Linked DNA regions of Homo sapiens: regions 1, 2 and 4 are each linked to region 3. The links are contacts of gene promoters, found by promoter capture Hi-C in blood cells and fetal thymus (Javierre and others, 2016). All regions are on one chromosome and are shown on one strand. Each heading gives the region's core, a stretch centred on a gene start or on the middle of the fragment in contact. The rest is flanking DNA. Distances are from core to core; before and after follow the strand shown. Region 1 overlaps PRPF19 (pre-mRNA processing factor 19). Region 2 overlaps TMEM132A (transmembrane protein 132A). Region 3 holds the start of CD5 (CD5 molecule). Region 4 holds the start of PTGDR2 (prostaglandin D2 receptor 2).

Evidence for each region. The method cuts DNA at HindIII sites, captures the fragments that hold promoters and counts their contacts. A CHiCAGO score of 5 or more calls a contact.
Region 1: a fragment that was not itself captured here is called in contact with the fragment with the promoter of CD5 in region 3 in 5 of 17 cell types (total CD4 T cells, naive CD4 T cells, non-activated CD4 T cells and 2 more); the score reaches 8.5 in total CD4 T cells.
Region 2: a fragment that was not itself captured here is called in contact with the fragment with the promoter of CD5 in region 3 in 11 of 17 cell types (naive CD8 T cells, activated CD4 T cells, non-activated CD4 T cells and 8 more); the score reaches 16.0 in naive CD8 T cells.
Region 4: a fragment that was not itself captured here is called in contact with the fragment with the promoter of CD5 in region 3 in 2 of 17 cell types (naive CD8 T cells and total CD8 T cells); the score reaches 7.1 in naive CD8 T cells.

The regions. Positions count from the first base shown.
Region 1 is chr11:60,895,339-60,902,528 of GRCh38, reverse strand. PRPF19 (pre-mRNA processing factor 19) reads left to right here. Exons shown (of 16, transcript NM_014502.5): 6 at 64-126; 7 at 989-1,030; 8 at 1,160-1,234; 9 at 1,600-1,675; 10 at 1,838-1,947; 11 at 3,225-3,380; 12 at 3,598-3,667; 13 at 3,903-3,988; 14 at 4,258-4,428; 15 at 4,578-4,683. Among named protein-coding and RNA genes, the nearest start is that of PRPF19, 7.7 kb to the left of the region's middle. RefSeq lists an enhancer at 2,867-3,392. The HindIII fragment of the contact is 961 bases long and covers 3,428-4,388 here.
Region 2 is chr11:60,927,215-60,934,332 of GRCh38, reverse strand. It overlaps TMEM132A (transmembrane protein 132A), which reads right to left. Exons shown (of 11, transcript NM_178031.3): 2 at 6,915-7,118; 3 at 6,474-6,692; 4 at 5,373-5,704; 5 at 3,674-3,823; 6 at 2,449-2,644; 7 at 2,206-2,349; 8 at 589-791. Among named protein-coding and RNA genes, the nearest start is that of TMEM132A, 6.3 kb to the right of the region's middle. The HindIII fragment of the contact is 232 bases long and covers 4,054-4,285 here.
Region 3 is chr11:61,098,874-61,105,473 of GRCh38, reverse strand. It overlaps CD5 (CD5 molecule), which reads right to left and starts at 2,985. Exons shown (of 11, transcript NM_014207.4): 1 at 2,859-2,985. The coding sequence starts at 2,913. The HindIII fragment of the contact is 6,487 bases long and covers 741-6,600 here.
Region 4 is chr11:60,855,602-60,862,928 of GRCh38, reverse strand. PTGDR2 (prostaglandin D2 receptor 2) reads left to right here and starts at 6,979. Exons shown (of 2, transcript NM_004778.3): 1 at 6,979-7,060. The HindIII fragment of the contact is 7,101 bases long and covers 1-4,809 here.

The DNA.
Region 1 (7,190 bases), core at 2,659-5,158, 200 kb after region 3:
ACTGTCCTTATGCAGGTGTCTTTGGTGCTCTGTGCCTCTCACCCTCACCTTTCTTCTCTTCAGGGTGCGGGTGAGCCAATGGATTTGGGTGAGCTGGTGGGAATGACCCCAGAGATTATTCAGAAGGTAAGTCCTGCTCTCACCTGGTGGGAGTGCTGATGGGCCCTTACTTTTCACCATCTGTCTGGAGTCCATCGTGACTAAAATCACTGTGCTTTTGGGAGTTGAGTGGTGCAGAGCATGGACCCTGGGACCAGATTGCCTGGGTTTGTATTTTGATGCCACTACTTGTAAGCTTTATGACCTTGGCTTACTTAGCCAACCCTTACGTGTCTCATTTCCCTAGCTTCTAAACTGAGAATATGATCATATCCACTGTATAGGCAGGCTGTGGGAATTTAAAAGATTTCATTACTGATAAGTGCACCTTTTAGCTCTTATTGTTATTGAGATTCTTTGCAGATAGTAAACTACTTTTATATATTTTCTTGTTTTTTTTCTATGAGGGCAATAGGATAGGAATTATAATCCTTATTTTGCAGATGAAAGACACATCTGAGAGGCAGAGCTGGGCTTCCTGATTGCAAGTCCAGTGGGATTCTCATTTGCAGGGCTTCTTAGTGTCTTTCTGAGCAGTTCAAATTGTCAGCATGTGTCTGAGCCCTTGGCTTAGTGGCGTGTAGACCTATGGGAGCTCTACAGTCCTAGCTTCTATTCTTGCTCTGCTGTTTATCACCTCTGCGACCTTGGGCAATTGACTTCACTTCTCTGAGGCTCAGTTTCCTCAGCTGTAAAATAAGGTCATCAACACCCCCCTCATAAAGCTGGGATGGAAGTAAGAAGAGAGAATGCCTTTAAGCCTGTAACGTAGAAGTTGGCAGATAGCAAGTTCTTGGTGCTGCTTTTGAAAGCACAGGTGTGACCAGCATCTAATGTACTTTTCTCCTTGCAAGATGATTTGTCTCACATTGAGCCTGTTCTTCCCCAGCTTCAAGACAAAGCCACTGTGCTAACCACGGAGCGCAAGAAGGTGAGTTCTCTTTCTGAAGCCTGGAGAAAGAGCTGGCCTGGTGGGAGGCGGTTGACTCCTTAGGAGAGAGAGGGCGGCTGAATCTTGGATTCATTGCTGCTCTTCTTTGGGGGCTTTTCATTTTCTCAGAGAGGGAAGACTGTGCCTGAGGAGCTGGTGAAGCCAGAAGAGCTCAGCAAATACCGGCAGGTGGCATCCCACGTGGTGAGTGTCTGGGTCTCCACTGTCTTGGAGACAGCCCTCCCGTTTTGTTTCTGGGGTGGGCGGGCCAGCATGGGGAGTGCTGAGTGCAGAGCTGTCCCAGGTTCCTGGCGCTGTTCCTGGTGCTGTTTCTCGCCTGGGCTGCTGAGTTGTCAGGGCTCCTCTTTCTGCCCAGCTGTGGGTTTCCTAGTGATGCAGTGAGGGAGTTACCGTACCAGGCAGATAGCCAAGAGGTATGGATAAGGAATAGAAGTAACTCTTGCTCCCCTGAGAACATGGGTGACTGGAGATGGCAGTAGGGGAGGTCTGTGGCTTTGTGGCCTGCTGTGATTTGGCCGTGACAGGGTTTGGTGTGTCTCTCTGCAAAGGGGTTGCACAGTGCCAGCATTCCTGGGATCCTGGCCCTGGACCTCTGCCCGTCCGACACCAACAAGATCCTCACTGGTGAGAGTCTGGGCCTAGCCCGGCAGGCCAAAGTGGGGAGGGGCAGCAGGGAAGGCGCATGCTCCTTGTCCTCTTCATGGGCATGGGAACAAAAGCATTTCCTTGAGCAAAAGGGCCTGGGTGGGCCTGACTCATTGTTTGGTCTTTTTGGGTCTTCTCCAGGTGGGGCGGATAAAAATGTCGTTGTGTTTGACAAAAGTTCTGAACAAATCCTGGCTACCCTCAAAGGCCATACCAAGAAGGTCACCAGCGTGGTGTTTCACCCTTCCCAGGTAAGGGGTTCTCCTCGCCACCCTTGGTTCTTCTTTCCTTGGCTGTTGTTTGTCCCTCACCCCGCTGCTGTCTCTGTGAAGTGGGGCTGGGAAAGAGCTCTGACTCTGACTCCTGAGTGGGCACTTGGAGGGGCTCACTTTGGAGTTGTGGAGATTGCCCTTCACTCTGCGTGAGACCTTCTAAAGCAGTGATCTTCCAGCCAGGGAGAGAACGGAAATGTGTAGTTTGACAAGCATATTCATTGAAATATTTCATATTAGGGAAAGAAAAAATCTTATAGTGTTCCTAATATAAACTACAGAAAACAAAGCTCAACACAATCTCAACTCACACTTACGAGGAGGACAGATATATCTGCTTTCCCATGATCCTCCAAGATGGGTAAAAATCATGTTGACTGTTGAAAGTGGTGTAGGTTGTAAACAGAACCTCTGGTTTACAGGGTAAAGGTAACTCATGGGACCAGATTAATGATATTATGGGATTCGAATTTTAAGCCTAAGACAGTTTGGGTTTGGGGCTGCAGGACATGGTTGGTTTAGTGCTTCGCAGTCAAGATTTCCCTTGGACCTTAGGGAAATGAGAAATATAAGAATAACATGGTGAATTTTTCATGACTAAATTTGTTCAAATTGAGAGCACTGTTTTCTTGCTTATGGGGTATTAATAGTTAGGTCTCATGAAATTGTATTGATAAAAAAAGATGGTAGTTATTTTTACCTTATGGCTTTTAATATCCTAACTAAACAAAAAATTGGTGAGTGACGCGAAATTCTCTCCCTGCCCCAAATCTTTTGGAAAATTAACTTACCCTGGAAATCCATAAAAGTGGAATGCACTGAAATACAGCCATGCAGCCCCTTCCAGTCCCAGTACTGCTCAGACCTGTGCCATACAGTACAGTAGCAGTTAGCTGCATGTGGCTATTTAAATTTCAATGAAATAGAATAAAAAATTCAGTCCCTCAATTGTACTAGCTACATTTTTCCTTTGGTCCTGGAAATGGGAAAATTGCTCTCTGTTGCAGTTAGCCTTTTTACCACTAGATGGCGAGGACGCCTCCACAAGCCCTGATGCTGTATGAGTTAGCACTTTAATAGCGTTTACCATTGGCTGTCTTGGGCACCATTGGGTGGATAGGTGGTTCCAGGGAGGGCAGAGCTGAAAGGAGAAGCAATTGTTGGCAGTTGTGGGCATCCCCAGCCCCGTTTTATAAGATTGTTTTGGTCTGTATCTCTTTTCTGACTCTGATATTCTGTCTTTGTTTTCCTTGTAGGACCTGGTGTTTTCTGCTTCCCCCGATGCCACTATCAGGATTTGGTCGGTCCCCAATGCCTCTTGTGTACAGGTGGTTCGGGCCCATGAGAGTGCTGTGACAGGCCTCAGCCTTCATGCCACTGGCGACTATCTCCTGAGCTCCTCCGATGATCAGGTGCGGTCCCAGCCAGTGCCCTGGAGAGGCCTGCTGGTCCCCAAGCTTGAACATCCTGGGTGGCAGGAACATCTTCCCACCCCAGCTGGTTCCCCAGAACCTCAAAGGAGAATGTTTGCCAGGGTTTGCCAAACCAGGGGCTCTGTCTTGCTGAAGGGCCACCAGAACCTGGGACCCACTTTCTCACTGACTCCATTGTCTCTTTTTTTTTCCCCAGTACTGGGCTTTCTCTGACATCCAGACAGGGCGTGTGCTCACCAAGGTGACAGATGAGACCTCCGGCTGCTGTAAGTTGCCTCATAGGCACTCAGCTTTTTTGTTTGCTGTTTATTATTTATTTTTACATTTTATTTAGTCATTTGTTTATTTGTTCTAAAGATATATTTACCATGAGCACCTGTCTAGTGCGGGCTTTGTGCTGGGTTCACTGAGGAATGTGAAGAACAAGGAACCTACCTTTGCTGCTCTTAGTCTCTCTCCCTGGTGGGCTCTGACCACAGGTCTCTCTTCCCTCCTCCACAGCTCTCACCTGTGCACAGTTCCACCCTGACGGACTCATCTTTGGAACAGGAACCATGGACTCTCAGATCAAGATCTGGGACTTGAAGGTAGGACATGGTAGGCCTCCATCTGAGGCCCAGGGCCAGAGGGAGTGTTTGTGACAATGCAGTGCTAATTAGGTGCTTGTGGCACCTGGCCCTGAAGGTGGAGAGACACTGGCTGTGCGTGTGTGATATGATGGTGTGGTCTGGGGGGTCCCGCTGGCTGTCCTTCCTGGAAGGACGTGAGGGACATCTCAGGTAGGAGTTTGGTGAGCCCCATTTTCTTCCTCTCATGATCTGTGGGTGACGTATTTTACTACCCACCGCCACTGTAGGAACGTACTAATGTGGCCAACTTCCCTGGCCACTCGGGCCCCATCACTAGCATCGCCTTCTCTGAGAATGGTTACTACCTGGCTACAGCGGCTGATGACTCCTCTGTCAAGCTCTGGGATCTGCGCAAGCTTAAGAACTTTAAGACTTTGCAGCTGGATAACAACTTTGAGGTGTGCCCTTCCCCCTCCGCCCAGCTTTCCATTGTGTCTCCTTGTTTGTCAATTATTTATTGAATTAATCTAATTGCTTCTGCTTATCCGCAACTGCCCCATAGTTTCTGTTCCCCTTGTGTGACCTTCTCTCTTTCTATTTCTGGCAGGTAAAGTCACTGATCTTTGACCAGAGTGGTACCTACCTGGCTCTTGGGGGCACGGATGTCCAGATCTACATCTGCAAACAATGGACGGAGATTCTTCACTTTACAGGTAGAGGCTGGTCCTGGGCTCCTGGGATCTCTCTAGGTGCCCAGGCCCGGAGGGAAGCCTCACTGGGTTAGGAATTTCTAGGGCTTGCATGAATTTACCTAAGCAGCTTTCTGTTACCACCTGAGGCAGAGCTTTATGACTAAGGAAGCAACTGAGTCAGACTGCATGGCAGTAGATGCTAGTGCTTGTTCTGCCACTTCCATGCCCTGTGGCATTGGGCAGGTTACTAAAGGGAGAGAAAAGTCCCTCTGAAGTTTTGATAACTGAATCTAAAATAAATGAACATTAGACAGTGACAGGAGGAGAGCCATTTTAATTACGTGCATATGCACGGGAGGCCCACATTATATTAGATCTGCAGAAGGGTCAGATGATTGAAGCTTATACAGTTTATATATCACTTAATAATGGGGATATGTTCTGAGAAATGTCTTGTTAGGTGATATCGTCATGTGCGACCATTGTAGAGTGAACTTACATATATCTAAATGGTGTAGCCTACTACACGCCAAGACTATTGCTATAACCTTAGTATAGTCTATTATTGCTCCTAGGCTACAAACCGGTACAGCATATTAAATGTAGTGAATACAATTATAACACAATGGTAAGTATTTGTGTATCTAAACAAGTGTAAACATAGAAAAGGTTCAGTAAAAATAAGGTATAAGAGATTTTTTTAAAATGGTACACTGGTATAGTGCTTGCCATGAAAGGAGCTTGCAGGACTGGAAGTTGCTTTCAGTGAGTGAGTTGTGAGTGAATGTGAAGGCCTAGGACATTACTGTACGCTGCTGTAGACTTTATAAACACAGTACACTTAGGTTTTACTAAATTCATAAAAAACTTTTTCTTCAGTAATAAGCCTTAGCTGACTTTTACTTTATAAACTTAAAAAAATGGATTCTTTTGTAATAACATTTAACTTAAAACTAAAACACATTGTACAGCTGTACAAAAATATTGTCTCTCTTTACATCCTTGTTCTATAAGCTTTTTTCTAATTTTTTTATTTTTATTTTTTACTTTTTAAACTTTTCTTGTTAAAAACTAAGACACAAGCACACATTACCCTAGGCCTACACAGGATCAGGATCACCAACTGTATTAGTCCGTTCTCACACTGCTATGAAGAACTGCCTGGGTAATTGATAAGGGAAAGAGGTTTAATTGACTCACAGTGACTCGGGAGGCCTCAGGAAACTTACAGTCATAGCAGCAGGGAAAGCAAACATGTCTTTCTTTACATGGCAACAGGAGAGACAAATGCTGAGCAAAGGGGCTAAAGCCCCTCATAAAACCATCAGATCTCGTGAGAACTCACTATCATGAGAACAGCATGGGGGTAACCACCCCCATGATTCAGTTACTTCCCACTGGCTCCCTCCCACAACACGTGGGGATTATGGGCACTACAATTCAAGATGAGATTTGGGTGGCGGCACAAAGCCTAACCATAGCACCAACATCACTGTCTTCTACCTCCACATCTTTTCCCACCGGAAGGTCTTCGGGGGCACCAACATGCATAAACCTGTCATCTCCTATGATGATAATGCCTTCTTCTCGGATACCTCCTGAAAGGGCCTGCTTGGTGCTGTTTTACAGTTAACTTTTTTTTATAAGTGGGAAGAGTATATTTAATACCAAAAAAAGTATAGTATAGGCATACCTTGTCTTATTGCACTTAGCTTTATTGTATTTTATGGATACTTTGCTTTTTATAAATTGAAGGTTTTTGGCAACCTTGCCCCAAGCAAGTCTGTCAGTACCATTTTTCCAACAACATGTGTTCACTTTGTGTCTGTGTGTCAAATTTTGGTAATTCTTACAGTATTTCAAACTTCTTCATGATTTATTGTGTCCGTTAGTGATCTTTGATGTTGCTATTGTAATTGTTGGGCGGGGGGGCACCATGAAATGTGCCCATAAAAGTTACTGAATTTATTTGATAAATGAAATGCTGTGTGTGTTCTGACCACTCCACCCACCAGCCGTTCCCCATCTCTCTCCCTCTCAGACTTCCCTATTTCCTTAGACACAACAATATTGAAACTAGGCCAGTTAATAACCGTATTATGGCCTCTCGGTGTCCAAGTGAAAGAAAGTGTCCCATGTCTGTTACTTAAAATCCAAAGCTAGAAATGATTGAGCTTAGTGAAGAAGGCATGTGAAAAGCCAAATAGGCCAAAAGCTAGGCCTCAACACCAAATATTAGTCAAGTTATGAAAGCAAAGGAAAATTCTTGAAGGAAATTAAAAGTGCTACTCCAGTGAACGCACAAATGATAAGAAAGCAGAACATCCTTATTGCTGATATGGAGAAAGTTTCAGTGGTCTGGATAGAATATCAAACCAGCCACAACATTCTTTTAAGCCAAACCATAATCCAGACCAAGATCCTAACTCTTGAATTCTGTGAAGGCTGAGACAGGTGAGGAAGCTACAAAAGAAAAGTTTGAAGCTAGCAGAGGTTGGTTCATGAGGTTTAAGGAAAGAAGCCATCTC
Region 2 (7,118 bases), core at 2,920-5,419, 170 kb after region 3:
GGCCCTTCCACCTGCAGGCGAGCCGCCCCAGCCCACTCCCGACTGGCGCTGTGCCTCGATCACCGCTCTTGCTCCCAAGTGGACCGCAGGGGAGACGCTCTCTTACGGGGACCCTGGGGGCGCTCACTCTCTGAAGGGCCTGGAAGCTAGATTCCAGAGGCGTGGGCCACCTCTCCCTGGGTTTTGGGGAGCCCCCTCCGAGGGTGTTCATTTCCTGAGCTCTGTGTCATCTTAGGCTCTGAGGGTACGACCAGCATAGACAGACCGCAGCTTCAAGGGGCTGACATTCTCGGGGGAGGAGCGTGGAAAGGATGGACAGGCAACATTAACCAGTACTGACGTAGATTAGGAAGTGGAGGGTGCTACGGGAGAAGTGAGGCAGGGAAGGAGGAGAGGGATGCGGAAGTCAGCAATTTCACAGAAAGCGATCATTGGCTGGGCGGCCCAGGGTGGAGGTGGGCAGAAGGAACTGCAAGCAACAGGGCAGTTTTTCTGACCCCGACTTGGGCCCATGGCTGTGTCCCCTGCGCCCTCTCCGTCCCAGTGTGACTCGCCAAGGCCTGCCAGCTTCCTCAGGCCTCCACTCACCCTTCAGCAGGGCCAGGTACCCTCCAGCCGCGGACCTGCTCGAGGGTGGTGTCGGTGAGCTCGATACGCAGCGGTAGCAGGGGGGCCCACACGGTCAGCCGCAGCGAGGCGCGGAGCCGGCGCCACCAGAAGTCCACTCGCACCCCCCGGGCGCCCCGGCTCTCCTTGCCAGCCACGAACACGGCATCACAGGCCTCAGACACCTATGGAAGGGCAGAGGGCAGGTGGGCGGGCTAAGCCACTAAAGACAGGTGTGAGGCTGGGCCGGGTGGGTGGCTCATGCCTGTAGTCCCAGCACTCTGAGAGGCCGAGGTGGGTGGATCGCTTGAGTCCAGGAGTTTGAGACCAGCCTGGGCAACATGGCAAAACTCCCTCTCTACAAAAAATACAATAAATCAGCCGGGTGTGGTGGCACATGCCTGTAGTCCTAGCTACTGGGGAGGCTGAGGTGGGAGGATCCCTTGAGCCTGGGTAGCTGAGACTGCAGTGAGCCGGACTGTACCATTGCACTCCAGCCTGGGGACAGAGTGAGACTCTGTTTCAAAATAAATAGATTAAAAAAAAAAAAAAGGCATGGGCCAGAAGAGAGCAGCCCTGACCTCAGGCCGTAGGACGGGCTCCCACTGAGTTCAGCTCTGTGTGTCACTGGAATGCATGTTGCAGCAGGATTGTTGGTTAAGCCCCTGTTCTTTGTTTAAGATTTTACTGTAGGGGCCATTCCTTGAGGTTCCCTGGGGCTCAGTCAGGGGAACTGGCCATTGCATACCAGTCTTCCTCCTGGCAGAGCAGGGGTGTGAACCCAAAACTTTGGCTCCTTATTCATGCTGGCCTTTGACATTGCTCTTGGAGCCACCTGGCAACCAGCTACAGCCAGGTAGGCAGAGGTGGGACAAAGCAGATCTCCCACCAAGGCCCTCCAGCAGGAACCACACACATTTGAGCAAAGGACCACAAGTGGGGAAAGGCACCTTCCCCCTTCAGGTGGCTGGGATTTGCATACATGCAGACTCCATGCTTCCCCTCTTAGAACTTCAAGATAGAGGAAGTTGCTCTACCACCCTCCCTTTTATTTCACTTCACAATCACCGGTAATAATAATAATAATAATTTTTACCATTGTATAATTATTACATCATATTATAACAGCAATAACTGCCATTGTTTCAGCCCCTGCTATCTGCTAAATACTGTCTTAAAGTGCTTTTAATTCTTACAACAACCCGAAGATATGTTCTCATTTTAAAGTTTAGGTAACGAGGCTCAGAGAGGTTAAGAGACCAGCCCATGATCACAAAGCTGGTTGACAACAAAGATGTGTTTCAAACTAAAACTTTCTGATCCCAGAGTATGTGCTCTCGACTCTCTCAGGCCAGCGCACTTGCCAGTGCAATAATGAGCGTGAAAGTGTCTAAGGTCGGGGGGCTGTTAGGGTTACTTGACTCGGGAGAGAGGTGGCTGGAACAAAAGAAGTTGAAGCTGTGGTTCCTCCCATGAGGTTTCTCGTCTCAAGAAGAAGCTGTTCTCTTGGGGACCCACATGAGGAAGGAGGAAAGGTGTGTGTGCGTAACTGTGCCCACACAAATGCAGACTCACATGAGCTGGGCACCTGCCACTCACCTGCAGGACCTGTGTGTTGGCAGACTCGCAGCCGACATGCTCTGTCACCTCCACCAAGGCCCCCCCGCCGTCCACAGTGACAAGGCGCACGGGGACATGCTGGGGCACTCCAGTCAGTGGTGCTGTATTCACCAGCTCCTCAGCCTGGGGGTGGAGGAGGGGCTCAGCCCCAGGCCCCTCAGCTCATGGGGCTCCTGGGACTTGGCCTCCAGCCTTCCCAGGCAGAGATGGAGGTCTCCTTACCTTGGCCAGTGGGATAAGGGCTCTGATGTCCCGCTCAGACACCAGGATTTCCCACACCATTTTGTCCTTCTCTGCTTCAGGGGCCTGGCCTGGGTACTCCAGCTGCCACGTGACGGGGCGAGTGACCGCTACGCCCCCACCAGTGCTATTCTCCACCACAAAGTCCACCCATAGGAACTCAGACAGTTCAAGGGGACTGCTGGCCAAAGGAGACAGAGAAGCCAAATGCTTGCTAGCTGCCAGGCATGGCCTCAGCACTTCCTGCATTCATGATTATCCCCATTTTACACAGGAGGAAACTGAGGCACAGAGGTTACATAGCTCACTTAAGACCACACAGCAAAAAGTAGCGGGGCTGGGATCTAAACCCAAGCATCCTCGCTCTAGACCCCAAACTCTGACCCACTCTTGGCCTCTCTAAGATCCATGAAGCCATTTAACCACCTCCCACCTGGCAAGGTGGCTCACTCCCCTGCCTGCCCGGGCCCGCTTCCCCCAGACTTCCGCTTTCCACAGCCACTGAGGTGGCATGCGGGAGATTCACTTCCAGGTCCCAGGACCAGACACTTGACCCTCTGAATGATAAGCTTCCTTTGATCAAACAAAAACCTATGTGCTGGGAACCGTCCTGGGTGCCTGATATGTAGCACTGTATTTTATTTTCAAAAATGCTAAGGGATGCATTATTATTCCTATTTCACAAGTGAAGAAACTGAGGCTTGGGTAGGGGAATGTTAACTGGCTTGCCCAAGGTTTTGCCCATCCCAAAAGCATCAGAACCAGAATTCGAACTGGGGCTACTGAGTCCATGGCCTTGACCCAGGCTCAGGGCATGAATAAGAAGAGTTCACAACCGCAGAACTGCAGCTGGGCTTTTTGGGGGAATGTGAACGGCCCAGAGAAAGGATCATTTGGTGGAAGCAGGGGGATGGAGTAGTGGCTATGAGGGCTCTACCTGGGGCACAGGATTGGTTGGCATCTCTTAGAATAAGACTCACAGACACTTGCTATGCCTGGCACATGGCTGGGGCTGGGAAGATAGTGGCCGAATGAATGAATGAAGGAATGGATTATGCCTGCTTTGTGCTGCTTCCTTGAAAAAATCTGTCCTTGGGTCTGCTCACCTGGGGATCTAGAGGCAGCATGGCAGCCTCCAAATCTGCTCAACTGCACTCTATAACCAGCCCTCCCTCCTTTGCCCCCTGGGTGGAGGGAAACTGCCCACCTGGAATCTGGCTCTGTGAGCCCAGCACGGTGGCAGGTGATGAGGGTGGTGTGGTGCCTGGAGCCCTTGAAGCGGTCCAGCTTGGCAGTCCAGAGTGTGGGCTGGGCTGGGCGGGCGGCTGTCACATGCAGCCCCTTCTTCACCTTGATCCTGGGGAAGAGAGTATAGGCTCAGTTTGGCAAGGTGCATGCTGAACTGTGGGCTGGATTGAAGGGGAAAGACAAGGAGCCAAAGCCATCTGACCTCCCTGGCTCCAGTCTGAATCTCCTCTTCACCATCCTCCAACCCAGAAGGACCCCGCCTCAGTGCAGCTCACACCTTACAGCTCTCCCCCACCCAAAGACCACTTACGCCTCCCCACTGCCCATAAGGTCAAAGCTTAGCCGGGCATTTGGGGGCCCTCCAGGGTCTGGTCCAGCCTTAACTTCGGTTGTGACATCTCTCCATGCACTCTCTGCTTCAGCTACACACAAGTTTCCCACACACACGGCACCCATTCGTGACTCCAAGCCTTTGCCCAGTCTGTGCCTTCAGCCTGCTCTGCCCTTTCTTACTTTACCTGCTGATGCTTTAAGCCTCCAACAACTCACAGACCATTTCCTTTAGAAAGCTTTTCCAGTGGTGGGATGAATTTCCCCCTTACTGCACCCACTCACCTGAGCTCCCACCGCACTTTGAACCTCCCTCAGTGCTTACACACCCACATGCCTTCTAATCCAATTCATGCCCATCCAGCTCCCTTCCCTACCACTGGGGCCCCTTTCTGCCAGATAGGGACTGGCCCTTGCTCGTGTTTGGATCTGCAGAGTGAAGACACAGGGCTTGGCAGGCTGTAAGTGTCTAGGAAAGATCTGCTTAATAAGAGTGAGCATAGGAGGGCGTAGGAGATGGGGAGACACAGAGACGGGACATGCACAAACCCAGGCAGGGCTTGAAACTAGGTCTAGGTTTCAAAGCATGTCCACAGACCGCTCTTCGATCCTCAGGAAAGATATCATTACAAAGTGAGCAAGTCCCAGTGCCTCACCCTAACCAAGCCCAGGACTATCCTGCCTAGAACTCAGGCTTCTCAGAATCTTAAAGCCTAAGAGATGCCTCTCCCATGGATTCCTGCGCTGGACTCCAGAAGCAAGTCATACTCTGCAAGCCCTTGCCGGGTGAACTGGGTAGGTGGGTGGGGGCTGCTTTGGGGGAACTTATTACGGAAAAGGACACAAAGAATCAGGGCCTTCCTATGGGGAAGAGCAAGCTCTGTCCAAAGGCTAGACTCCTACGGCGAGGGTGGCAAGGAGGGACAGCATGTAGGTGAACGTGATTGGGGCAAATATCCCTCTCTGGAGCACTGGAGCAAGAGCTCACACTTAGGTACTGCAGTCTCTAAGCCCTTTGCGGGTTCCCCTCCCTGGAGACTTGCAGCTGCCCTGAAGGTGGACCGTTAGCCCCATTGGACAAAGGAATCTCAGGGAGGTGCCAGGGGAAGGGGCAGCTTCCTACTTCTGACTCTAATTCCAGGGCTGTGCCCATGGTGGGCTCCTACCAGCACAGTCATGGCTTTTTACCTGGAAGGAGTTTAGTTTGGTGGACACATGTTTTGCAGAGGTCAAGGATTCCAGCAAGGACCCCAGGAGGAGCAGGTACCTGTCCCTAGTCTTCCCACAGAGGTTCCCACCCTCACCCATCCCCGTGGCCTGGTGCTCACCGCAGGGTCAGGAGGCTGGCTGTGAAGTTGTGCCGAAGCAGGAGGGTAGCACTAAAGAGCTGGCCGGGCCGCACTGGCATGTCAGGCACCCGCAGAGTCACAGCCTCGTCCAGAGGTACCTCCTGGTACTGCGGGGGGTCTGCTGGGCGCAGCTCCACACCCCCCACTGGGAGGGCCTGCTCCCCAGGGTCGTTCTCCTCGCCGGAGCCACAGCCCCCAGGGCCCTCAGCTGCAGGCTCAAGCGTGTAGGCCAGCTCGGCCCGTGTGGTGGAGGCCTGTGAGAACCAGTGCGAGGGAAGCTCCAGCTCCACCACGCAGGCGCCCAGGGATGGCTGTGAAGACACGACAGCAGTAATTGGCATGGGGGTGGGTGCAGGGCGAGGAACAGGATTCTCAGCACCCATGGCAGGAAACCCAGAGCTGGAGGGGCTCATGAAAGGGAGGCCCAGCATGGGCCGGAGACACAGCCTGAGTGACACAGCAAACCAGCAACCTGGCTGGGGCTTCAAACCAGGTCTAGGTTTCAGAGCATGTCCGCAGACCACTCTTCAGCCCTTGGGATAGGTCTCATTACAAAGTAAGCCAATCCCAGGGCCTTACCCTAACCAAGCCCAGGACTATCCTGCCTAGAATCCAGTCTTCTTCTCAGAATCCTAAAGCTCAAGAGACGCCTCTCCCATGGATTCCTGTGCTAGACTCCAAAATAGTGGAAATAGCAATTATAAAAGTAACACTACTAATAATGCAAACACACTGGCTGATTGATTACTCTGCCGTAAGCTATCCTTACATTCATCTCACTTGTTCCTTACTCCAACTCCAGATGGGGTAGGAATTCTTAACACCCCATTCTTCAGATGAGGAAACTGAATCTCAGAGAGATTAAGTTACTTACTCAAAGTCACACACCAAGGACTGAACTCCCTCTGGGGCCCTAAATAACCTTTTCACAGCACTGAAAGCTAGTGGGGGCAGAAATGGAGTCGGGTGGTCCACAACCCCCGCGCTTCCCAGGAGTGGGGGTTTCCTCTCTGCCGCGGGCCCACCACCTGGCTGATGCAGCTGCAGCAGGACCAGCCTAGGTGGGGCCTGTCTACTCACCTGGAAGCGGCAGGCTTGGTGAGCAGTGCCGGCAGGGTGTGTGGCATGGAGCCGGGCACAGGGCAGGCTGCCAGACCCTGGTGGCCAATCCTGCCCTTTGAGGTGGAAGAGAACCCGGGCGTAGGGCTCTGCTGGAGTCACAGCCGCTTCCACTGAAACGGCCCGCACGTCCCATGGGACTGGCCGTTGGTGGGGCTCAGTGACTCGAGGGGGGACCACCTGGAGGGAGAATGAGAGGGCTTAACAAAAGAGGAGCTTGGGAGGGGAAGATCTAGGAAGATGGGATCCCAGCTTGGCAGAAGAGAACCTTTATGGGCCTCAGTTTCCCCCTCTGGAATATGGGGAGCACAGCCGGGGCTGGGGAAGGCTCCCAATTTGTACCCAGCAGACCTCAGGCCCTGAGTCCTGTTAGCCTGAGAGTCCCCGGTGCCCCCTCCTTACCTGCTGAGTGGCAAAAGGTGGGTAGGAGGCCCGGAGAAGTGGCTGGGCCCTGGGCCAGGGCTGTAGGAGCAGAAAGGTCTCAGATCGGGAGCTCAGAGAGGAGTTGGCAGGTGGGTAGTGGCCCACCTGCTGCACACGGAAGTGTTCAGGGGCGTCTAGGAGCTCCAGGGCTGCCGGCAGGTAGACAGGGTCCAGGGGAGCCTG
Region 3 (6,600 bases), core at 1,736-4,235:
GTGCATTGATTCATTGAATCCTTATAAGCCTCTATGAGGTACTGTTGCACCCAGTTTACGGATGAGAAAACTGAGGCTTACAGAACTAGTCCAAGGTCGCCCAGTTGGTAAGTGGCAGACTGGAATTCAAACTGCAGAGTCCATGACTTTCCCACGTCCCAGTGCTGGCTTTCAGAGTCGCATCGGCTAGGCCAGTCAGGGACGTGCAGTTTGTGTTAGAGCCGCTTCCCCGCCTCACTGCCAGCAGCTGTCCAGGCAGGCTGGGGCTGAGAGGGGAGCAACTGTGGGAAGCCCTGGCCTGTCACTAGCACCCAGGCCTGCTGGGGGCATCTTCATGCCTCAGGATCCAAAGGTCCCCAAGCCCCGATGCCAGCCAGGAGGCTGTGGTGTCCCCAGGGCTCTGGCATTGCTGCCTCTCTCCTTGGAATGGCTCAAAGGGTGCCTGCACTGTTTGACTCCAGCAACCCTGGCCCTTGGTGTCCCCAGCTCTGGTGGCTGTATCTCTGCTGGTGGAGGTTGTGTCCCAGGGCCATTTTCCTGCACACGGAAGTGCCTTTGGTGGCCTTCCCTTTTAGCTAAGGGAGGGGCCTCTGTGAAGGCAGGAATGCTGGGCTGGGGTCAGCTCGGCTGTGCACCAGCTGCTGCACCCTGGGTTTGCACTCGGCCTTCCTGGGCCTCGCTTTTCCCCACTGTAAAATGGGGCCAATGGGCCCACCTACTTCATTGGCTGTTGTGAAGCTTGCAGCAGAAAATGGCTTTAAAAGTGCTTTGTAAACCGTTACCCACTGAACAAAGGGAATGCTTGGTACCCACCGGCTCACTCAGACACTGGGAACTGAGTATTCCTGGGGTTCAAGGAGGTCCCCATACTGGGGTGAAGGGGCTACCTCCAAGTCTTCCTGACTGTGGCCTGTGTTGGGCCAGGGGACTTGCCTGGTGCCATCAGGAGCCTCACCCATGATGGGATTCAGTTGGGAGGGCCCTAGAGCAGGACACGGGTTCCCATACTCAGCTGGGAGCCGCCCTATCTCAATGAAGTCTGAGGCCAGAGGTGAGGAGCAGGTGGGGGGTTTAAGGGCCTGGTCCCTCCTTAGCAGGGTCCCTGAAGCCAGCCAGAGGTCTGTCTCAGGCCTCTTACTTTGGGACAGAAGGCATTTTGTACCTGTTGTTGTTACATGTGAGAAGAACCATGTGAACATGTGTGCACAGGTGCCATTGTCACATGTGTTGGGGAGATAATCCTGCCTTTGGAGGCCGCATTGTGCTCATGAAAGCACACACACACAGTTCTCACACACATGCGCACAGACTCCCACACACAGACTCACACACAGACTCACACACAGACTCACACATTCCCCCCACACAGTACTCACACACATGCCCAGAGACTCACACACAGACTCACACACAGACTCACACATTCCCCCATACACAGTTCTCACACACATGAACACAGACTCACACACAGACTCACACGCACAGACTCACACTTTCCCCCCCACAAAATACTCACACACATGCCCAGAGACTCACACACAGAGTCACACATTCCCCCCCCACACACAGTACTCACACACATGCCCAGAGACTCACACACAGACTCACACACAGACTCACACATTCCCCCCCACACAGTACTCACACACATGCCCAGAGACTCACACACAGACTCACACATTCCCCCCCAGACAGTACTCACACACATGCCCAGAGACTCACACACAGACTCACACACAGACTCACACATTCCCCTACACACAGTACTCACACACATGCCCAGAGACTCACACACAGACTCACACACAGAGTCACACATTACCCCCCAACACAGTTCTCACACACGTACACACAGACTCACACAGACACACATAGACTCACACATTCCCCCACACACAGTTCTCACACACATGCACACAGACACACACACATGCATTCCCCCACACTCACACCTGCACACCCGGTTTCCCTAGAAGGCTGCTGAGGCTCCCTGCTCAGGCAGGCAAGGCCTCCGGACCCTCTCCCTGCCAGCCTGGAAGCTGCTCGCATCCTCCTGTTTCCAGCCCAGAGTCACGCACCTCTGTCACCCTGCCAGACCTTCTAAATCCTCAGGAAGTGGGTCAGGCCTCATCCAGTTCACACCCCCAACCCCCACATTTCATAAATGGGGAGATCAAGGCCTGGAGAGGCTTGGGGACCTATCCGAGGTCACACAGGGTTGGGCTTACAACCCAGGGCTGGAGTGAGAGCAGGCCCAGCGTGTACTCATCCCAGCCGGCCTGGCTGGGCCCCTCTGGGACTGACCCAGGACTGGGCATGAGAGGGCCTAGGACTTCCGCTATGAGTCCTTGACATTTGCTCAGACATCGTCCTCAGAGGCGGCTCCACCCTGCCTCGGCCCACTGTCTGTCCAGAGCATCATCAGAGCTGCCTCGGAGACGGCGAGTTTCCATGTCTCTGGAGGCGACCAAGTAAAGGCTGGGCTGTCAGTGGGGGACCTCGCAGAGGGAGGCCTGAATGCTCTGCTAAAATCCAACTCAGCCTAGGAATCAAGTTGTCTGGGCCCCATCAAATGCGGGTCCCCCCTGCAGTCTCTCTTGCACTGGAAGGGTAAAGCAGGGTTCTCAACAGCGCATGAGAGAGGCAAGGTTGTGCTCCTGGCGGGTGGGACATGCAGGACAGAGGGCCAAGCTGCGGCTTAGTGGGGGCAGGCAGGGATCCCAGTGGCCCCAAATCTCCACAACGCTCCAGAGGGCTGACATGTGGATCCCAGAGTCAGCCTTGGGTAAAACTGGGAACTCCTTCCTTGCACTGGAGCGAGCCCGGGTGTTCGCAGGACACCTGGGAGGGGTACTCACCCAGCATCCCCAGCAGGTACAAGGTGGCCAGCGGTTGCAGAGACCCCATGGGCATGGTTTCTGGCCTTCTCTTGCCTCAGCCTGGGCAGCTGGGCACCGCAGGTGAGGGTGTCTGGCCGGGTATCTCGCTCTCAGAGAGGGAGAGGGCGGGGTGGCGTGCTCAGGGAGGGGTGGGACGGGGAGCAGGCAGTGTGGGGCCTGCGTCACCCATGTTTGAAGTTGAACTGTCAACTTCCTCCTGGCAAAACCACCTGCCCCTGTTTGAATGGCAGCCCTGGCCTCTGCCAGCTTCCTGCCCAAGGTACCCAGGGCTGGGGCAGTGCTCTCGGCCACCCCCACACAGGACAAGGCCATGCATCCTGGAGGGACAGGGCTGCAGGGGGTGGGGACCCTGAGCGGGGGTTACGGAGGCTGAAGGCCTGGCTGCAGCTGAGGGCTGGGCTGAGGACAGGCGTCCCTGAGGCAGGGGTCTGGGTGGGGAGAGGCGGGAAATGGGCAGCATGATGCCAGTTCTTGTTGCAGACTCCAGTGAAAGCCAAAACCAAACCCTCCATTCCCCCTTTGTGAGGGATGAGGTTGGAAGTTTGAGCTGACTTTCCACAGGTGGTGTTTTGCTAGCAAGTACAAGAGATGGCTGCGCCATGAATGCTGGGCTTGTGCCAGTGTGTGTGTGTGTGTGTGTGTGTGTGTGTGTGTGTGTGTGTAGAGAGAGAGAGATCTCCATGTTGACTTGTGTGATCTCTGTGTTGTGTGTGTCATCTCTGTGTTGTGTGATCTCCATGTTGAGGTGTATGTGTGAGCTCCATGTTGAGTGTGTGTGATCTCCATGTTGATGTGTGTGTGAACTCCATGTTGATGTGTGTGTAATCTCCATGTTGACGTGTGTGATTTCTGTGTTGTGTGTGATCTCCATGTTGATGTGTGTGATTGTGATCGCCATGTTGATGTGTGTGTGATCTCCATGTTGATGTGTGTGTGTGATCTCCATGTTGATATGTGTGTGTGATTTCCATGTTGTGTGTTTGTGATTTCCATGTTGATGTGTGTGTATGATCTCCATGTTGACTTGTGTGATCTCTGTGTTGTGTGTGTGATCTCCATGTTGGGGTTGATGTGTGTGTAATCCCCATTTGATATATGTGTGTGTGATCTCCATGTTTGTGTGTGTGAATGTGATCTCCATGTTGATGTGTGTGAATGTGATCTCCATGTTGACGTGTGTGTGTGATCTCCATGTTGATGTGTGTGTGTGATCTCCATGTTGATGTGTGTGAATGTGATCTCCATGTTGATGTGTGTGTAATCTCCATGTTGATGTGTGTGTGTGATCTCCATGTTGATGTGTGTTTGTGATCTCCATGTTGATGTGTGTGAATGTGATCTCCATGTTGATGTGTGTGTGATCTCCATGTTGATGTGTGTGTGTGATCTCCATGTGGATGAGTGTGTGATCTCCATGTTGATGTGTGTGTAATCTCCATGTTGATGTGTGTGTGTGATCTCCATGTTGTGTGTGTGTGATCTCCATGTTGATGTGTGCGAATGTGATCTCCATGTTGATGTGTGTGTAATCTCCATGTTGATGTGTGTGTGTGATCTCCATGTTGATGTGTGTGTGTGATCTCCATGTTGATGTGTGTGAATGTGATCTCCATGTTGATGTGTGTGTAATCTCCATGTTGATGTGTGTGTGTGATCTCCATGTTGATGTGTGTGTGATCTCCATGTTGATGTGTGTGTGATCTCCATGTTGATGTGTGTGAATGTGATCTCCATGTTGATGTGTGTGTAATCTCCATGTTGATGTGTGTGTGTGATCTCCATGTTGATGTGTGTTTGTGATCTCCATGTTGATGTGTGTGAATGTGATCTCCATGTTGATGTGTGTGTGTGATCTCCATGTTGATGTGTGTTTGTGATCTCCATGTTGATGTGTGTGAATGTGATCTCCATGTTGATGTGTGTGTAATCTCCATGTTGATGTGTGTGTGTGATCTCCATGTTGTGTGTGTGATCTCCATGTTGATGTGTGTGTGATCTCCATGTTGATGTGTGTGTGTGATCTCCATGTTTATGTGTGTGAATGTGATCTCCATGTTGATATGTGTGAATGTGATCTCCATGTTGTGTGTGTAATCTCCATGTTGATGTGTGTGTGTAATCTCCATGTTGTGTGTGTGTGATCTCCATGTTGATGTGTGTGAATGTGATCTCCATGTTGATGTGTGTGTGTGATCTCCATGTTGATGTGTGTGAGTGATCTCCATGTTGATGTGTGTGTGTGATCTCCATGTCGTGTGTGTGTGATCTCCATGTTGATGTATGTGTGATCTCCATGTTGATGTGTGTGTGATCTCCATGTTGATGTGTGTGTGTGATCTCCATGTTGTGTGTGTGTGATCTCCATGTTGATGTGTGTGTGATCTCCATGTTGATGTGTGTGTGTAATCTCCATGTTGTGTGTGTGTGATCTCCATGTTGATGTGTGTGAATGTGATCTCCATGTTGATGTGTGTGTGATCTCCATGTTGATGTGTGTGAGTGATCTCCATGTTGATGTGTGTGTGTGATCTCCATGTCGTGTGTGTGTGATCTCCATGTTGATGTGTGTGTGTGATCTCCATGTTGATGTGTGTGAATGTGATCTCCATGTTGACGAGTGTGTGTGATCTCCATGTTGATGTGTGTGTGATCTCCATGTTGATGTGTGTGTGATCTCCATGTTGATGTGTGTGTATGATCTCCATGTTGACATGTGTGATCTCTGTGCTGTGTGTGTGATCTCCATGTTGGGGTTGATGTGTGTGTAATCCCCATTTGATATATGTGTGTGTGATCTCCATGTTTGTGTTGTGAATGTGATCTCCATGTAGATGTGTGTGAATGTGATCTCCATGTTGATGTGTGTGTAATCTCCATGTTGATGTGTGAATTTGATCTCCATGTTGATGTGTGTTTGTGATCTCCATGTTGATGTGTGTGAATGTGATCTCCATGTTGATGTGTGTGAATGTGATCTCCATGTTGATATGTGTGAATCTCCATGTTGATGTGTGTGTGTGATCTCCATGTTGATGTGTGCGAATGTGATCTCCATGTTGATGTGTGTGTGTGATCTCCATGTTGATGTGTGTGTGATCTCCATGTTGATGTATGTGTAATCTCCATGTTGATGTGTGTGTGTGATCTCCATGTTGATGTGTGTGATTTCCATGTTGATGTGTGTGTGTGATTTCCATGTTGATGTGTGTGTGTGATCTCCATGTTGACTTGTGTGATCTCTGTGTTGTGGGTGTGATCTCCATGTTGGGGTGTATGTATGAGCTCCACGTTGATGTGTGTAATCCCCATTCGATATGTGTGTGTGATTTCCATGTTGATGTGTGTGATCTCCGTGTTGAGGTGTGTGATCTCCATGTTGATGTGGGGTATGTATGTGAGCTCCGTGTCCCTGTTGCTCTTAGAGGGTCTGGAATCATCCCCCTTGAAGAAGAGGCAGGGTCTCTGCAAAGAAGATGGGAAGCCCGGGGCAGGGGAAAGTCCCTGTGTTTCCCTGGGCTGGGCTGGGTTCCGTTTTTTCCTCACATCCTTTGTGCTCCCAGATGAGAAAGCTCCTGGCTCCTTGGGCTTCCTGTACTCTGGGCCACCCCAGGCAGGTAGGAAGTAGTTCAAGGACGTGATCACTGGTCCAGGTCCACTAGGGCCTGGGGCCTCCCCATCCCTGGGCTGGAGAGGCTGGCTC
Region 4 (7,327 bases), core at 10-2,509, 240 kb after region 3:
GTGGTGTCTGCCAGGTTTCTCCACCATAAAGTAATGATGTTTCTCTTTGTAATTCATGAGTATCTTACAGGGAGATACTTTGAGACTATGTAATCAATCCTGCTCCTCTTCAAATGTTCACTGGCTAGTGTGGTTGCCAAGTGGGTGGTGGTTCTCTAACTCTACCCTTCCTTCTGCATTTATTTGCTATCATAAGAGAGAACTTTTCCTAACGGGGGCTTTTAGGGGCCAGAGAGAGAATCAGCTGGAGTCTTTGAGAGGCCTGGATTTTGCCTGGTGCTCACTGTTTATGAGCACAAGGGCCCTGGGAAGTCACTTACCGGCTTTTTTCCTCTATCTGGAGAGTAAGGATGAGAATGATTATGGTGGGGATGCAATTACATAAGACACGGAGAGGTGTTTCCCCACTGGTCATGGACCCATGGGGAAAGTACGTCTCCCAAGGTGCTGGAAATGGGCAGGGAAAGAGAAGGGGGGCTTCCTCAGGGCCAAGGGCAGAACACCTTTGGGAAAAGGGTACCAGAGTATCCAAGAGAGAGAGAGAGCGCGCACGAGCGCCCTGAGCCCTCGGTTACGACTCTACGTTCTTGCAAAGACTCATGGACACCAAGAATTATCAGCCTGGGAGGATCCCAGCTCCTCTGCTCACCCACTGGAGACCTTGGAAAAGTCCCTTCCCTGCTCTGTGACTTGCTTTCCTCATCTATAAAATGGGGTTATAATAGCACCTAAATTGTAGGGTTGCTCTGAGGATTAAATGAGATAATCCATGTGAAGCAGGCAGAACAGGGTCTGCACATGGTCATCATTTGAACACGATAGCCATTACAACCACGATTATTTTTATTGATAAAGAGAGAGGGTCAGATGGAGGTGACTTGACTTGGAATCTTGGCTTTATCCACTTGGCTTCTGGTTTTTGGGTTTTTTTTTAGAGATGGGGTCTTGCTATATTGCCCAGGCTGGTCTCAAACTCCTGGGCTCAAGCAATCTGCCCGCCTCTGTCTCCCAAAGTGCTGGGATTACAGGCATGAGCCTCCACACCTGGCCACTTGGCCTGTTTGTAAACCTGTTTGTTCATTTCTTTCTTTCTGTTTTTAACCTATGAATTTTTTTTTAATGGAACTTCAGTTTCTTTTCTTTCTTTTTTTTTTTTTGTTTTGTTTTGAGACAGAGTCTCACTCTGTCGCCCAGGCTGGAGTGCAGTGGCGCGATCTCGGCTCACTGCAAGCTCCGCCTCCCGGTTCACACCATTCTCCAGCCTTAGCCTCCCGAGTAGCTGGGACTGCAGGCGCTGGCCACCATGCCCGGCTAATTTTTTATATTTTTAGTAGAGACGGGGTTTCACCGTGTTAGCCAGGATGGTCTCGATCTCCTGACCTTGCGATCCGCCCGCCTCAGCCTCCCAAAGTGCTGGGATTACAGGCGTGAGCCACCGCACCCAGTTGGAACTTGAGTTTCTTAATCTATAAAATGGAACTAAGAATACAGTCCACCTAAGTGGGGCGCCGTGTAAGTATCAGTTGCTTGCCCTGTCTCCTCTGTGAATAGAGCCTAGGGAAGGCACTGGAGGAGGATGGAGCCTCTCTAGGCTGGAAAGACAAAATCCCCTTTCAGGGGATCCATGCATGCCAGGAAACCAGCAGGAAGCAGGCTGCCTCACTCCGGGGCCTGCAGAGTAACCCAAGAGCAGCGCCAGCTGTGTGTGTATGTATGGACCGTGCTCACCGCAGAGATGCTCCCAGAAGGCCAGTGGGAGCGCATTTAACTGAAGACAGGCAGCCCTGCTTCCCCTGAGGGAACAAAGAACCTCAGAGAATCTCATCAGCTGCGAAGAGCTGGGCTCTGCTGCTGGACCACATGGCTCTGAACTCCAGCTCCTCTGCTCCCCAGCTGAGCAGGCTTGGTAGGGTTGCTTAAGCTCTCTGAGCCTCAGTTTTCCCCTTGGTGAGTGACGATGATAGTGGTACCTAACTCAGAGGGGTGCGTGAATATTTGATGAGCTCATCCATGAGCAAGTTTCAGCCTTACGCTGGCACATAGTGAGTGCCCCATAAGTGTTAGCTATTACTGTTTTCATTTTTTTTTTTTTTTTTTTTTTGAGATGGCGTCTCGCTCTGTCACCCAGGCTGGAGTGGAGTGGCAGGATCTCGGCTCACCATAACCTCTGCCTCCTGGGTTCAAGCGATTCTCCTGCCTCAGCCTCCTGAATAGCTGGTATTACAGGCGTGCACCATCACACCTGGCTAATTTTTGTATTTTTAGTAGAGATGGGGTTTTGCCTGTTGGCCAGGCTGGTCTCGAACTCCTGACCTCAAGTGATCTGTCCGCCTCATCCTCCCGAAGTGCTGGGATTGCAGGCATGAGCCACCGTACCCAGAAGCTATTATTGCTTTCACTGTGTTGAATGGTGGCCCTCAAAAGACATGTCCACAACCTAACCCCTGGAACCTGTGAATGTGGCCTTATTTGGATAAGAGGACTTTGCAGATGTAATCAATTTAAGAATCTCAAGATGAGAGCACCCTGGATGATCCAGATGAGCCCTAAGTCCAGTGACCAGTACTCTGTGAGAGACACATGAAAAGAGGGAGGGGGAAGGCCAGGTAAAGAGGAGGTAGAGATTGCAGTGATGCAGCCCTAAGCCAAGGGACGCCTGGAGCCACCAGAAGCTGGAGGGGCCAAAAAGTCTCCTTTTCTAGAGCTTTCGGAGGAAGTGCTGGCATCTGATTACAGACTCTGGCTTCCAGACTGTAAGAGAATAAGTCTCTGTTGTTTAAAGCTGCCACGTTTGTGGTAGTTTGTTCTGACAGCCCGAGGAAACAAATACACCACTGTTGTTTCTGCGACGATTGCCTGGCACATGTGTGGGCCTGAGCCCAGGCCAGGGCTGCCTCTGCCTGCTCTGCCTTCTTGTCTTCCTTCCTACTATAAAGCGATCAGTCCCCAAGGTTGTACCCACTGCAGGTGAAGACAGAGCCATGGAGAATTGCACCAGACCATGGGTAAGAAAGGTTCCAGAATGGGGCCGGACACAGTGGCTCAGGCCTGTAATCCCAGGACTTTGGGAGGCTGAGGCAGGCAGATCACCTGATGTCAGGAGTTTGAGACCAGCCAGGCTAACATGGTGAAACCCCTTCTCTACTAAAAATACAAAAATTAGCCGGGTGCGGTGGCGCACGCCTGCAGTCCCAGCTACTTGGGAGGCTGAGGCAAGAGAGTCGCTTCAACCCGGGAGGCGGAGGTTGCAGTGAGCCAAGATAGGGCCACTGCACTCCAGCCTGTGCAACAGAGCGAGACTCAGTCTCAAAAAAAAAAAAAAAAAAAAAAAAGTAAAGGTCTCAGAATGGGTCACCACAAGGGACTGGGGTCCTTTGAGGTCTGCACAGGGAAGCCAATTTTAGAGATTCATTCTGTTCAGCAAATATATGTTGGGACCCCTCTCATGTGTCAGGCCCTCTGCTTGCCTTTGGAGGTGAGAAGATAAAACAGGAATAAGTCTCTGTCTTCAGGTGGCTCATGAGGGTGGTGAACAGTTGTGTGAACAAGAGTTACCAGGGAAGACAGGGGGGCTGCAGGTCAAGTGAAGTGGAGATGTGGGAGAGGAGGGACAGCAAGTGGGTCTGAGAGAATCAGCAAAGGCTTCCCAGAGGAGGCAACCTCTAACCAGGGTTTTGAAGGATGAATAGGAGTTCACTGAGAGGCCAAGGGAAGAAAAGGCATTCCAGAGCAGAGCACAAACAGCATAAGCCAGGGCACAGAAACAGCCTGGTGGGCACAGAAACAGCCTGGTGTGTACAGAAAAAGCCTGGTGTGCACAGGACAGGAGGGGACAGTGGTGAGTGCTGGCTGATGACAGGATGCCACTAGGGAGTGGCAGCAATGCCAGGGGAGGCTTGGGTGGGACTGGATCACCGAGGGGCTTGTTGGCCATGCGAGGAGTCCTGTGGGTGATGGTGGCACCAGGGAACTCAACCTGGGCCTCCCCAAGGTATCATTTGGGGCCCTGCCATGCTGCTCCTCTACTGGGTGTGGGTAGCTCGAGGGCCTCCGAGCAAGGGGCTGGAGGATCCCAGGGCAGGCCTCACCCTGCTTCCTGCCCTGCATCTCACTTCCTGTTTGACTGACTTCTTTAAAGTGGCCAGAAAGGAACATAAAAAACCCACCTAGAGGGAGAAGAAAGCCCATGTGGGCTGGGCCTATGCTTGGGGGCTCCATCTGCCCCTCCTTCATTCCTTTGCTCCCTTGGCTGTATTTGTTAAACATTGATGCTGTAAGTATCCTCTGAGTATCTAGTGACATTGGTGGTCTCAGAAAGAGGTCCTGCAGGATGAGTCGTGGAGGGGAAGTGGCATTCCCAGCAGCACGTGCCAAGGCATGGAGGTGGGGAAAGAAAGGATGGGGTAGCTGTGGACATGAGGAAGGGGGTGCAGGGACTGGTGGTTGGTGCACTGGATCCTGAGAGGCCTTGAATGCTAGGTTGGGAATCTGGACAGCTCCCATGGGCAGCAGAGATGCAGCAGAGGTCCCGTGTGCCAGGAAGCGACAGGCTCAGATTCATCTCCTCCACGGCAGAAGGTGATGCTGAGGCAGCGAGGGACCCGACTTCCGCTCTTACTGCCTCTGATATTAAGTTCCAAGCCTTGGAGGAGGTTGTAATTTAGGGACTAGGGCCTGAGCCTGAGTGCAGCTGCATCTTTCTCCCAGTCCTGGGGGACACAAGCCATGGGATAAGGCAGGGCACGGCTCTTCTTCAGAAAATGCCTCTGGGCCCTGCTCATCTGGAACTTGTTTTGGTAACTTTAAGCTTAGTAGCTTTTTTTGTTTACTTAGTAATACATTTTCTTTAGAGAGAACACACACACTGGGTTTTCTTTAGAGAGGAACACACTCGCACTGGGGCTGGACATGAGTCACTACAGTGATTACAGGACTGGAAACAAGGACTGAGAAGGGGCAGATGAGTAAGGGTTTTTTAGCCAGAAAAGAAGCACCTCAGCAGGGTGGCCAGGAGAGGTTGTGCAGGATGTTCACTGTACAAGGATACCAGTGGAAGGGTCAAGGGTGGGCTGAGATCCAGAGGAAGGGCTGTGCCTTATCTCAAGCCTGATGCCCTGGTGCTGAGATGTGTCTGTGGGGTGGGGTGGTGGGGAAGGGGTGATTCTTTTTCTTAGTCCAAAGATAAATCTGGGCTCCAACCCCTGTCCTTTGAGGGTGGGACTGTGCAGAAGGAACACCATTTAAAGTTCATATTTTACTGCTGTGAAGTTACTTGCCCAAGATCACATAGCTGAGGAGTGGCAGTGCCAGATCCAGACACTGGTGGTCTGGCCCCAGAGTCCCTGGGCTTAACCACAGCCTGACACTCTCTGTGCGCAGACAAGGCACACGTGGCCTTGTCTGTGGTTCAGTGGGTTGGGTGTCCGGGGTGGGTGGAAAAGAGGGCACTTTCCCCATGCAGAATGGAATCATCCACCTATGTTCTCTGGAGGGCTGCAGGCATTTGTCTTTGGAAATCAAGCCTTCCCTGACCTGGAGGAGAGGGGACATTTTCCTATTGTTAATGATTTGGATCACCAAGGCTCTTACTGATCTGCCATATTGGGCTACAGTGAGATGTATTATCCCCATCACAAGGGCATAGCATTTTACTCATTTTCCACTCATGATGGTAGCCTCTCAGCAAGAGCGTATTATGCATTAGTCTCTGCGTTAAGACTAGGCCTAAATGGAAGATGCTTGTGCTGTCCATCTCATGGGAGGTGCCTTTGCCTCGATACAGGGATATTGAGTTCTTAAAATGTTTTAATGAGTATCCATTAGGTGCTGAGATGCTGAGGTTGAAGGGATGGTCCTGACCCCAGGAAGCTTGGTCAGCAAATGAGAGTAAGGAGTTAGGGAACAATGAAATGCAAACTTCTCTTATCCTAGGGCTTTGAGCCTGTGTGTTTTTTTGTTTGTTTGTTTTTGTTTTTTAGTTTAAATTTCCATTTTTTTTTTTTTGAGATGGAGTTTTTACTCTGTCACCCAGGTTGGAGTGCAGTGGTGTGATCTCGGCTCAATGCAACCTCCACCTCCTGGGTTTAAGCGATTCTCATGCCTCAGCCTCCCAAGTAGCTGGGGTTACAGGCATGTGCCACCACGCCTGGCTGAGTTTTGTATTTTTAGTACAGACAGGGGTTTTGCCACATTGGCCAGTCTGGTCTTGAACTCCTGACCTCAAGTGATCCATCCGCCTCGGCCTCCCAAAATTGAGCCTGTTTTAAATAAAAGCTATATGACCTTTGCCTTAGAGCCTATATTCATTTTTCCCTCAGAGGAGAAGGAAGCTGATTTTTATAAGCACTTACTGTGTGCCACGAGCTTTGTGCAATCCATCTCATTCAACCCTTACCACAGCCTGTAAGGCCGATGTTACTGCTCCCGTTCACAGATGACAACCCCAGGGCTCAGCAAACAGAAGTGACTGACCTCTTGGACTGCGTTCTTGCCACTGCCCCCACTACCCCACTGTACTTTCCTGGCCTTAGAGCCCTCGGGTCCCTCATGGACAGGCCCCCACACTGCCTGGGAAACTCAGAACAGCTGGAGGGGTTTCTTCTCTGAGGATTCTGGTGTCGGGAGATGGAAGCCCAGGAACAGTGGACAGATGGATGAGACATTCTCCTTCTCACGCACTTATCCTACACACTGGTCACTCTCAAAAGCACACCCCTAGTCACACTCGGGCTCACACTCTCTTGCACACATCGATTTTTTCACGTGCACTTGCACTGCCCTCTGGACTTCTGCAGTCTCCTTCATGAAGCGGGGATGGGTGGAGCAGGGGCTGCCGGCATTGATGGAAATTGATGATATTTGAACATCTGTGTGGCAACTCACTCTCCAGCTGTCCCCGCCTCCCCCAACCCCACCCCTAAACACACATGCACTGGGGCTGACAGCTATTTCCTCTCTCAGCCTCCCTCTCCCACCTCTGTCTGCCCGCTGCCTCTTGTCTAGCTGCTGTCAGGAGCTGACTGCCTCCAGGGCTGGAATCCTGTGCTCCCTCTGTGCCCAGGTAAGGAGGAGTGGCCCAGGGGTTGGGCAGCCTAGTGCCCTCTCTAGACCCACAGAAGAAGGCAAAGTTTTACCAGGTGAGAGGGCTGTTACCAGCTAGGATGGCAGAAGATTGAGTTTACCAAAGACTGGAGGGGACTTGGTGCTCAGAGGAGGGAAGGATTAGCTTCTCTTAGGCATTAACTAGATGTCAGATACGAGGGGAAACCACTCAACTGTCTGTCAATATTCACAAGCAGTCTGGGTGGGAAGATGACACCAGCACGCT